2 separate regions of the Homo sapiens genome follow, and region 2 is linked to region 1. Evidence: promoter capture Hi-C in 16 types of primary human blood cells and fetal thymus (Javierre and others, 2016). All regions are on one chromosome and are shown on one strand. Each heading gives the region's core, a stretch centred on a gene start or on the middle of the fragment in contact. The rest is flanking DNA. Distances are from core to core; before and after follow the strand shown. Region 1 holds the start of NUFIP2 (nuclear FMR1 interacting protein 2). Region 2 overlaps ABHD15 (abhydrolase domain containing 15).

What was found. The method cuts DNA at HindIII sites, captures the fragments that hold promoters and counts their contacts. A CHiCAGO score of 5 or more calls a contact.
Region 2: a fragment that was not itself captured here is called in contact with the fragment with the promoter of NUFIP2 in region 1 in 3 of 17 cell types (megakaryocytes, M0 macrophages and endothelial precursors); the score reaches 7.1 in megakaryocytes.

The regions. Positions count from the first base shown.
Region 1 is chr17:29,291,576-29,297,574 of GRCh38, reverse strand. It overlaps NUFIP2 (nuclear FMR1 interacting protein 2), which reads left to right and starts at 3,427. Exons shown (of 4, transcript NM_020772.3): 1 at 3,427-3,792. The coding sequence starts at 3,516. RefSeq lists enhancers at 3,059-3,258, 3,569-3,668, 3,362-4,122 and silencers at 3,829-3,948, 4,579-4,758. The HindIII fragment of the contact is 5,437 bases long and covers 1,785-5,999 here.
Region 2 is chr17:29,558,133-29,563,527 of GRCh38, reverse strand. ABHD15 (abhydrolase domain containing 15) reads left to right here. Exons shown (of 2, transcript NM_198147.3): 2 at 442-2,981. The coding sequence ends at 967. Among named protein-coding and RNA genes, the nearest start is that of ABHD15, 6.2 kb to the left of the region's middle. The HindIII fragment of the contact is 1,531 bases long and covers 543-2,073 here.

The DNA.
Region 1 (5,999 bases), core at 2,178-4,677:
AGATTCCGTTTTATAAAAACATGCTTGAAATAAGTAGACCCAGTTATTTTCTTCTCACCAAAAGTTTAGTATTAGGGCATTATTACTATTATTATTATTTTGAGACGGAGTCTTGCTCTGTCTCCAGGCTGGAGTGCAGTGGCACAATCTCGGCTCACTGCAACCTCCGACGACTCCCTGGTTCAAGTGATTCTCCTGCCTCAGCCTCCCGAGTAGCTGGGATTACAGGCATGTGCCACCGTGCCCAGCTAATTTTTGTATTTTTAGTAGAGACGGGGTTTCACCATGTTGGCCAGGACGGTCTCGATCTCCTGACCTCGTGATCCGCCTGCCTTGGCCTCCCAAAGTGCTGGGTTTACAGGAGTGTGCCACCACGCCCGGCTAAGGGCATTATTATAATGGAATATTTCACATTCTTGGCAAATCCCAATTATATTTTATATAAAACAACTTCAGAAAAATCAAGAAGAAAAAAGGTCTGTGTTTTACTGTTGTATTTCCATTCTTATTTTTAAAATTCGTGTTCAAGATTATGATTCTAATGTATACAAGAATGTAATATTCTGCTTTTTTTCTTACATTATATCATAAGCCTTTCTTCATACTACTGCATACTACTAAGGCAACATTCATAGTAACTAGAGCATCTGAGAATAAGATTTAGTTTATTAAACTCAGTCAGTACAACTGTAAGTGAAAAGCTAAAGGTAGGCAAAAGTGTGATAAATCAGAAATACAGAATGAGTGCTTTTGGTTTGCCTGCAGGTATAATGTAGAAAACCTAGACAGGGAAGTTGGAACTCAGAAATTCAAGCCTTCCAACTGAATGTCTAAGTCAACAAAAAATACCAACATAATCTTAAATTGTATATATACTTTTCTTTCTTTCTTCTTCTTTTTTTTTTTTTGAGACAGGATCTCGCTCTGTTGCCCAGACTGGAGTACAGTGGCACAATCACAGCTCACTGCAGCCTCCACCTGGAGGGCTCAAGTCATCCTCCCATCTCAGCCTCCCAACTACAGGCACACACCACCATGCCAGGCTAATTTTTAAAAATTTTTGTAGAGAGAGAGTCTCTGTATGTTGCCCAGGCTGGTCTCGAACTGCTGGGTCAACTGATCTGCCATGGTCTCCCAAAGCGTTGGGATTACAGGTGTGAGCCACCACACCTGACCTGTTTTTTCTTTAATAATTGGGAACGTGGCAGAATATTATTCAGTGGTAAAGACTTATTGTGATATGATATTATTATTAGGGTTTTCATTCTCAAAATTGGGTAAATGTACCCCCAAAGAGGTTTTTCTTTAAAATTTAGCAAAGCTGGCTGGGCCTGGTGGCTCATGAATCCCAGCACTTTGGAAGGCTGAGGTGGGCAGATCACCTGAGATCAGGAGTTCGAGACCAGCCTGGCCAACATGGAGAAACCCCATCTCTATTAAAAATACAAAATTAGCCTGGCACAGTGGCGCATGCCTGTAATCCCAGCTACTCAGGAGGCTGAGGCAGGAGAATTGCTTGAACCCAGGAGGCAGAGGTTGCGGTGGGCTGAGATCATGCCATTGCACTCCAGCCTGGGCAACAAGGACAAAACTCCATCTCAAAATAAAATAAAATAAAATTTAACAAGGCAACACAAATCCTTACTGTATAGAACATGCCAAAATTTGGTCATGGTTTTCAGGATTCAATGACATTTGTTATTGGAAACCAGCTTTTACGTTTTAAATAAGCTTTTGCATTGACATTCATTAATTTCATAGCATAAACTTTTTGCTTTCAAGCTTCTTGTTCCTTTAATGTTGTCCTGTTGTAGGAATTCAAGCCACATTTTAAAAATTCAAAAACGTAACATACATTGAGGAAACAGTCCATATGTCCGTTGCTGAGTGAATGAACAAAATGTGGTATATACATATAATGGAATATTAGTCAGCCTTAAAAAAGAGGGAAATTCTGATGTATGCTACTCTGAAGACATTATGCAAAAAAGCTAGTCACAAAAAGACAAATACAGTACAATCCCACTTATATGAGGTACCTAGAATAGTCAAGTTCGTAGAGACAGAAAACAGAACAGTGGTTATCAAGGGATGGAAGGAGGAGGGAAAGGACATTTATTTTTATTGGGTATGAAGTTTCAGTTTGGAATGATGAAAAAGTTCTGGAGATAGATGATGGTCATGGTTCTACAACAATACGAATGTACCTAATGCACCTGAACCATACACTTAATATTAAGATGGTAAATTTTATATTATGAATATTTTACAATTAAAAAAATCCCCCAATCTATAACATACATTGGGAAAAGTGCATTTTATCTGTATATTCAGTTTAACAAATAATTACTAAGCAAATATATGTAATCACCACCTAGCCCCCAAAATGAAATATTATCAGAGTAACCTGTGTCCCTCCCCATCACAACCCTCTTCCTTCCTGAGTAACCACTATCATGGCTCTAACATTTGCTTTTGAAAATCATATACTGTGATGTGGTAATGCAGGATAAGTTAAATCTACACTACAAAACGCTACAGAATATTTCTTTTAATTTCAATTTTTCCATAAGTGCCAAAAAAAAAAAAAACAAACCCACTTAATAACTTTTAAGTGCTCTTTCTCCCCTTCCTTTGCTCTTGAAACTTCTCATTCTAAAACCTATTTTGGTTCCACAGTTGACCTCACCTGCAGAGTTTAATTAAAAAAAAAAAAACCTTCAGTGTAAATTTTCATTCCTCCTGCTCTCCCTTGCCTCCAACTACAAAGAAACAATGATTTAAACCCTTTGTGCCCTTTTAGAAAATTACACAGATACCCCATTGTGGAACCCTATAATCCCTTCGTGGAAAGGAAGAGATTAGCATATGAATACAAAGCAAAATGAATCCAGAATACAAAATGATCTACTGGATTGTGAAGCTCTTGTATGCTTAAAAATGTATTTATTTCCTCTTTTTGTATTGCCCCTTTAGTGGTCTCGGGGTTAAGGGAATTGAGCTTCCCTTTCTGGTTACCCGGAAAAGGATTAAAAACAAAACAAAACAAAAAACAAAAAAACACCAGATTCTAAGAGGTGCAAAGCCAGCAGATGGCTCACAGCACCAGTGGAATCGCCAGTGGAATCTGCTACCCTCGACACGAGCCTGCTTGCCGGCGAGGAGTGTAGAAAGTGCTGTTCACAGACTGCGTGGTGAAGGAGAGAAAGCGACAGAAGAGAGAGCCATAGTGCTGACGTTGAAGGCCCGGCCCTGTGAGGTTGCACAGGGTAAGTGGCGTTGGCCAGGCGGCAGCGGCGAAGGGGAAGGAAAGAGGATTTGAGCTGGGGGCGGGGCTTGCGGCACAGCGTGGCTCCTGATTGTTGGAGTGCGGCTGCCAATCTCGCAGAATCGCTCGGTTAACCAGTGCGCTGGCGAGACGCGCTCAGATATACTGAGTGAGCCCTGAGAAGCAGTCTCAGATCCTGACGGTGCAGCAGCCCGCAGCCTCAGCCAGGGAGTCCCAGCCGCTTTCAATGGAGGAGAAGCCCGGCCAGCCACAGCCTCAGCACCATCACAGCCACCACCATCCGCACCATCACCCTCAGCAGCAGCAGCAGCAGCCGCACCACCACCACCATTATTATTTCTACAACCACAGCCACAACCACCACCACCACCATCATCACCAGCAGCCTCACCAATACCTGCAGCATGGAGCCGAGGGCAGCCCCAAGGCCCAGCCAAAGCCGCTGAAACATGAGCAGAAACACACCCTCCAGCAGCACCAGGAAACGCCGAAGAAGAAAACAGGTCTGGGAGGGAGGACGGGTGGGGGAAGGGGGTTGGGGGTGGAGGACAGGAGAGATGGGGGTGGGGCTGGATCCGAAAAGCGCGGACGGGGTCGGGGTGTGTGTGTGTGTGTCCCCTCCGGCTCTGGGGATGCCCCTTTCATTCTAGAGCTCGGGCTGAGCAATGGGGTTTGCAGCGCCCTCTCCTTCCCTCCAGCATGGGAGAGGCCCAGCCAGGCCAGCGTGACCTTCCTGGCCCCGGCCCCGGCTGAAGGGAGACCTGCTGGGTCGGCCTTGCAAGTCCAACCTCATTATTCTTTTCCCATTCACCTCCCTGCGTCCCTGGAGTTACCTCAATTTGGGGGCCCTGAGATGGGGTAAACCTACCCCCCCAAAAAATCCCTCGAGGTGTAACTCAGGAAGGCCTAGCGAATCCCGACTCGGATGGTGTCGCGAGACCCTTTTGCAGGCGGCGAGGAGTGGGTAGGTAGGGTGAGTTGAGGAAGTGCCCCTCACCCGCCACCCCAAGCCCACCTGTGGCCTTGGGGCTCCCCGTCTCGGTGGGGGGGGCTGTTGGGACCCCTCATCTCACGGGTCATTTCCACCACTAAACGCCCTTTTTGGGCGCCGGACCCCGCAGTCTTGTCCCGCGGCTCCTCCCGAGGCCGGCGCCCCGCGCCCGCTCCCCCCAGAGCCGGCGCGGCTGGAATGTTCTCTCCTCCTCGCGGGGCCGCTTCCTGTCCGCCATGTTGGAAGCCGATTCCTGTCACCGACTCCGGCCCACTGAGGAGCGGAGGGGGAAGGGTGTCGAGGGCCACACGGGGCGGCGGAGCCGGGTGACCCGGGATCACCACCGGCCGCAGCCTCGCCCCCTGCACTGCGGGGGCGCCGGCGCCCCCCGCACCGCGGCCGCCCCCCCCCCCGTCGCCGGCCGGGGTTGTGTAACCCGGTGGCGGCGCGCGGCCCCGGGCGGGTCCCTGGGGTGAGGGGCGGGGGCGGTTGGGGTGGGGGAGGGAAGCGGCCACGAGGGGAGCGGCCTGCGCAGGGCCCCGCGCGCCAGCGGCCGCGTTTCCCGCTCCCGGGTGCGGCGGGAGGCGCGGGCAGTCGGGGCGGGGAGCCGGCCTCGAAGCGGAGCTGAGAGGGAAGGAGGCCGCGGGCGGCGGCCGCGGCGCTCCTAGAGGCAGGAGGCCTGGGGGGGCGGCGGGGGGATTCATTTCGGGTAGAGGCGGTGCCTGAGGCCGGGTGGGGTACCCAGCGGGAACCCAGCTCCCCGGTCACGAGTTTCTCTGCCACAGGAACCTCGTCTCCTGCCAGGTTCGCTCACGACTCCGCCTCTGAGGCTTTCACTTGGGCCTTTTCCTTCTAGCAGCTCATTTTCTACAAAAAAAAAAAAAAAATCCAAAAACCTTGTTCCATTCCCCTCCCGACCCAGCACTTACCTTCTGAGCTTGGGTAGTGTCTTTGAGGTGAGGGATTTTAAAAAATGTTAGGATGGGGAAGAGTGCGAGCTTTTTGACCCCTCTTTCTTGTCCTTAAGGGTGAACCCAAGTGGCTCATCCATGAGGTTAGACTACTACCATCTTGCCTCGGATGAGGCTTCTCTCCGTGTTAAAAAGAAAGGTGTTTTTCGTATTTTAAAATCGATATTGATCCCCAAACTAATCTTAATAAACGAGAAATTGAGGGTAAAAGTCATGTAAGAAAGTATTTCACGAGAAGTGAGTTTAATAGTTTATAACCCACGCAGATTTTAAAAAATAAGGGCTCTTTATAAATCGAAGAGAAATGAAGCGTAAGAAAGCGTATGTTAAACCCAGCGTATCAAATTTGATAGAAGGAATTGTTGAGAGCTGGAGAAATACTAAGTGCTTTTTTATTGCAGATTGTAACTTGAAGACTGAAATTAGAATGTCAGATTTTCCATTTTGGGACTTCGTAGGGACCCGATAGTATGCAATAGAAGTGAACACATACGCACGAGTTAGGTGTTTTAATCCTAAAGATTTGGAACAGTTTAAAAACTGTTAGGGACTATATAACTAGATTTTTTAGCATTAGATCTTGTTCAAAAGATGAGAAAATACTACCATATTATGGCTGCATAAGGCAATATTACTGTTGAGATTGAAAAATTGTATCTCATCGGTCAGGTTAATATACTCTTGCCAGACTTCTCTCTACATGTGGAAGCAACCGCTGAACCATTCAAGGTGGTATTCCTCCAAATAT
Region 2 (5,395 bases), core at 59-2,558, 270 kb before region 1:
GTCACCCAGGCTGGAATGCAATGGTGCAATCATAGCTCACTGCAGCCTTGACCTCCCAGGCTCAAGCAGTCCTCCCACCTCAGCCTCCTGAATAGCTGGGACTGAGCCACCATGCCAAGCTAATTTTTTTTTTTTTTTTTTTTAGAGATGGGTTTTCGCCCTGTTGCCCAGGCTGTTCTCAAACTCCTGGACTTAAGTGATCCACCCACCTCGTTGGCCTCCCAGAGTGTTTGGATTACAGGCGTGAGCCACCACAACCAGCCTTATCTGGTTTTAAATGATGGCCATGAAATTAAACGTTTTCGAAGCCCTAAATGGCCAAAGAAAGCCTCTGTGGACAGATCTGGCCTGCGGGCTGTCTGTCTGTCTCATCTGCTGTCACCTGATGTTCTCATTCTTCCCTCTCTTTCCCACCTTCCCCACTAAACACCTCGCTGCCAGGTATGCCACAGCCCTGGAGGACACTGTGGACACCAGCAGACTGTTCAGGAGCCGTTCCCTTCGAGAGTTTGAGGAGGCTCTCTTCTGCCACACCAAAAGCTTCCCCATCAGCTGGGATACCTACTGGGACCGCAACGACCCGCTCCGGGATGTCGATGAGGCAGCCGTGCCTGTGCTGTGTATCTGCAGTGCTGACGACCCCGTGTGTGGACCCCCAGACCACACTCTGACAACTGAACTCTTCCACAGCAACCCCTACTTCTTCCTCCTGCTCAGTCGCCACGGAGGCCACTGTGGCTTCCTGCGCCAGGAGCCCTTGCCAGCCTGGAGCCATGAGGTCATCTTGGAGTCCTTCCGGGCCTTGACTGAGTTCTTCCGAACGGAGGAGAGGATTAAAGGGCTGAGCAGGCACAGAGCTTCCTTCCTTGGGGGCCGTCGTCGTGGGGGAGCCTTGCAGAGGCGGGAAGTCTCTTCCTCTTCCAACCTGGAGGAGATCTTTAACTGGAAGCGATCATACACAAGGTGAAAGACCTGGCCTGAGAACCCCCAAGTCCTGCAAAGAAAAACAGAGCTGGGCAAGGGGGAGTCCTGGAAAGATGGGGCGGACTGAACAGAGGGAGCTCCAGCTCTGTGCTCCTCATTCAGTCCCTCTCTCTTAAATTGGTGCCTTGAAAGAGAAGGAACGTCCTGCGAGCCTGCACTCACTTCATCCTCAGCAGAACTCCTGCCTGGCCTCTGCTCAACATATCCCTACTCATCCGGTCAGCAGCGGCGCGTTCCAGTCACTGTCACCTGTCACTGACATCACAAGCCAAAGGATAGCACTTTTTCAATCCATGGACTCAGGAGAAAATGCCCTCTTACTGGCAGTGGCTAGAGGGATGAGACGTTTGTGTATGTCACTGGGCAGTGACCCCGATTCTCAAGCTGGAGCCATTTGATGTCATGAGGACAGGATGTTTGTGTCTCGGCCCCACTTCCCTCATTTGCTCTGTGGTTGTGGCGCCCTGCTTTGACCGAATGCTCTGGCAACTGCGGCAGCAGGCTTGTGTGTGTGAGAAGGGCGGCAGAGGCAGTGGGGCTGGCTCGCTGAGGGCTGAGCAGGTAGAGAATGTGAATGTCCATCTCAAGGAATGCGAAGTTCCAATCTCTCAGAGGAGCTCTGCAAGTCTCAGCTAGGAATGGGGCTGATCTGGCCCCCAAGCCTCACTGGAGAGATCCCAAGGGTATTTTACAAATAGGAAGCGCTCTCATGCAGGATCTGAGGGCTTTGCTAGACCATGGTTCAAGGAGTCAGAATCTTGGCTACCCTACATGCTCCCTCTGGCACCATTTCAGGGGATTACTCCAGAGAGCTGCAGCCAGAACTGTTTATCTCCTGAGATATGGACTTTCTCTAAGTCAGGAAAAGCACAAACCTCATAACTTAGGTGTTTTCTGGTTGGTTGCTCCCTTTTCTGATCCTACTACTGGCCTCTCCCTTTCCAGAGCCAGGAGACACATCTGGGACCAGAGGAAACAAAAGCACCAAGAGGTTGACTAGAGCTGACCAGTGATTTACAAATATTTCATATTCCAATGCTTCGTCTGCTCAATTATTCAAAAGGCCATCCCTGTAAAGGCAGAAAAGCTTCCTCTTAGATCTGGCCACTCAGCAAATAAGTGGGTATTTGGTTTTATGAAGAATAATGCTGAGGACTAGAGATATAGTATATCAGAGATAATATATAGTATACAGGTTGATCTAAATATTCTGGTTTGGATTAGGCAATTAAAATTTTTTTGGCAACAGGACATATGTTTCCATGTGTTGCTAAGATTCAAAAACTTTGCCCTGAAGTTTTATTTTAATCGTCATTGAGAAAGAGGGCTCCTGTTCTGACCTCAAAAACAGCAAAGCTGTTGTAAAGAAGAGAGCTGCTTATACGAAAACCCACATTCCAAGACTTGGTATAAGGTATTCCTGAGGCCTTGATTTCAGGTTTGGATAATCTTGCCCCAGATTCTAGATCTTGTTCTTCTAGATCAAATCAGAAGAAACTTTGAAATAACTCCAAGAATCTGCACTGAAATGTAGACAGCACTCGATAATCTAAGGGACATTATCTTGTTGTGAAAAATTATCTCCCTCCTGGCTGGGAGCGGTGGCACACACCTATAATCTCAGCACTTTGGGAGGCCGAGGTGGGTGGATCACGAGGTCAGGAGATCGAGACCATCCTGGCTAACACAGTGAAACCTCATCTCTACTAAAAATACAAAAAATTAGCCGGGCGTGGTAGCGGGTGCCTGTAATCCCAGTTACTCAGGAGGCTGAGGCAGGAGAATGGCGTGAACCCGGGAGGCGGAGCTTGCAGTGAGCTGAGATCGCACCACTGCACTCCAGCCTGGGCGACAGAGTAAGACTGTGTTTCAAAAAAAAAAAAGAAAAGAAAAATTATCTCCCTTCTCCCCACTTCTTGTTTCTCCTCCTCCATATTCCTCATCTGACGTTCTTTTGCCGTTTCTAAGCAGGATAAATAAAAAGGAACTGAAATTAAGCTGCTCTACTGCCGGTGAACAACAGCCTTGGTGTAAGCCTTGGTGAGGGAGATTTACTGCCATCTGGCCATCCGCTACCACCAGCTGCCCTCCACATCTGGTACAGTGAGGATTTCAGTTAATTAGGGTCCCGTAGTCCCAGTTGCCCTGCAAAATGGGAAGCAGCCTAGTGGTTTTTAAACCCTAAGGCTTAAAGAGTCCCTAAGGGTGAAAATCTGCATAGTTTCTCTAGAAACTATCCAGATAATGCAAGATTCTGGTTCTTCAAGAGAATAGCTTTTGGAGAAATAGTGGTTGGTTTTCCTTTCCCTTTTGATAGGAAAGAAAGTTTTCCAGGGAGAGAAATGTATAAACTTTGTAGTTACAGTCAGAAGAATGGCAGAATCAGCCCCAGTTCACGTTCCATTAATTCCTTTGAACCCTGAACTCTAGTGACCCGAACCCTAAAGTATTTCTCTTCCGTGGCCCTTGTGCCAGATGCACCCACTGCATATCCCAAGAACATTCTCTGATTTTCCCATTACTACTTGAAGACTAGGGCTGAAATGCCTGTTTTGTGCTGAGAAAGTGTAATTTCTGTTCAAGCAGGAAAGATTTGGATGGCCCTGTCCTTTAGCCTAATGATTCAAGAATCACACAGGTGAATTCTGCTTTGGTAAATAGCTAATTGTGTGAAGCCAGCTGGAGGAGCCCCAGGCACACTGTTCTGTGAATGGGTGGCCCTTGAACAAAATGGCAAGTTATGAGTTTGAGGAAGCAAGAAACAAACAACAAAACCAAACAATAGGCGGGGCACAGTGGCTCTCACCTGCAATACCAGCACTTTGAGAGACTGAGGTGGGAGGATCACTTGAGGCCAAGAGATCGAGACTAGTCTGGCCAACATAGCAAAACCCCATCTCTACAAAAAATTAAATTAGCTAGGCATGGTGGTGCACCCTGTAGTCCCAGCCACTCGGGAGACTGAGGCGGTAGCACTGCTTCAGCCCTGGAGGTCGAGACTTCAGTGAGCCCCTCCCGAACACCTAAGAACCACTGAGTTGGACTTTCCAGGTGGTGGGTCTTCAGTAATCTTCAGGCCTCATTACTTGCTTGCCTCCTTTTTGGTGTCCGTTATTTACCAACACCTTCAAATGGTAAGATAAAAAAATGAATACAAATAAGGAAACGAGCCAGGTGCAGTGACTCACTGCAAAGTGCAGTAATCCCAGCACTTTGGGAGGCCGAGGCAGGCAGATCATTTCAGTCCAGGAGTTCAGGACCAGCCTAGCCAACATGGTGAAATTCCATCTGAGTGTGGTGGCACACGCCTGTAGTCCCAGCTACTTGGGAGATTGAGGTGAGAGAATCGCATGAGCCTGGGAAGCAGAGGCTGCAGTGGACCGAGACTGCGCCACTGCACTCCATCCTGGGCAACAGAGCAAGACCCTGTCTCAAAATCATAATGAAAACAATAAAGCAAAAACAAAAAGCCAATGACTAAAGGGAGGCATTAATTCAGAAGTGGCAATTGAGTCCTCTGTCTCTAGCCATGGATCAGAATGCAGAAAGCAGACAACTGCTTCTGAAATTTTCTGTGAGTTCTAAGTTCTGATCTCTGATATCAAGATTGTGCTAAGCTATAACTTAATTCTCATAATTTAGTATTTTATGTATTTATACATAGATTTCCAGGGTGGCTTGGCTGGAGATGACAGTATGAAAAATACAGCACTAAATTCTCTGAGAAGACATCATCTCTGTTTTGAGTGACGATATCCTAAGACTTGGATACTGATAGAAAATAGGTCTTGGCCGGGCGCAGTGGCTCACGCCTGTAATTCCAACACTTTGGGAGGCCGAGCCGTGTGGATCACCTGAGGTTGGGAGTTCGAGACCAGCCTGACCACCATGGAGAAACCCCGTCTCTACTAAAAACACAAAATTAGCCAGGTGTGGTGGTGCATGCCTCTAATCCCAGCTACTTGGGAGGCTGAGGCAGGAGAATCACTTGAACTCGGGAGGTGGAGGTTTCGGTGAGCCAAGATTGCGCCATTGTACTCCAGCCTGGGCAAGAAGAGCAAAACTCCGTCTCAAAAAAAAGAAAAAAAGAAAGGAAATAAAGAGAAAGAAAAAGAAAGAAGAAAGAAAGAAGAAAGGAAAAAAAGAAGAAAGAAAGAAAAAGAAAGAAAGAAAAAGAAAGAAAGGAAGGAAGGAAGGAAAGAAAGAGAAAGAAAGAAAAAGAAAGAAGGGAAGGAAGGAAGGATGGAAGGAAGGAGGGAGGGAAGGAAGGAAGGAAGGAGGCCTTGGCCAGGCATGGTGGCTCACACCTGTAATCCTAGCACTTTGGGAGACTGAGGTGGGTGGATCGCTTGAGTCCAGGAGTTTGAGACCAGCCTGGGCAACGTGGTGAAAACCTGTCTCTACAAAAAAT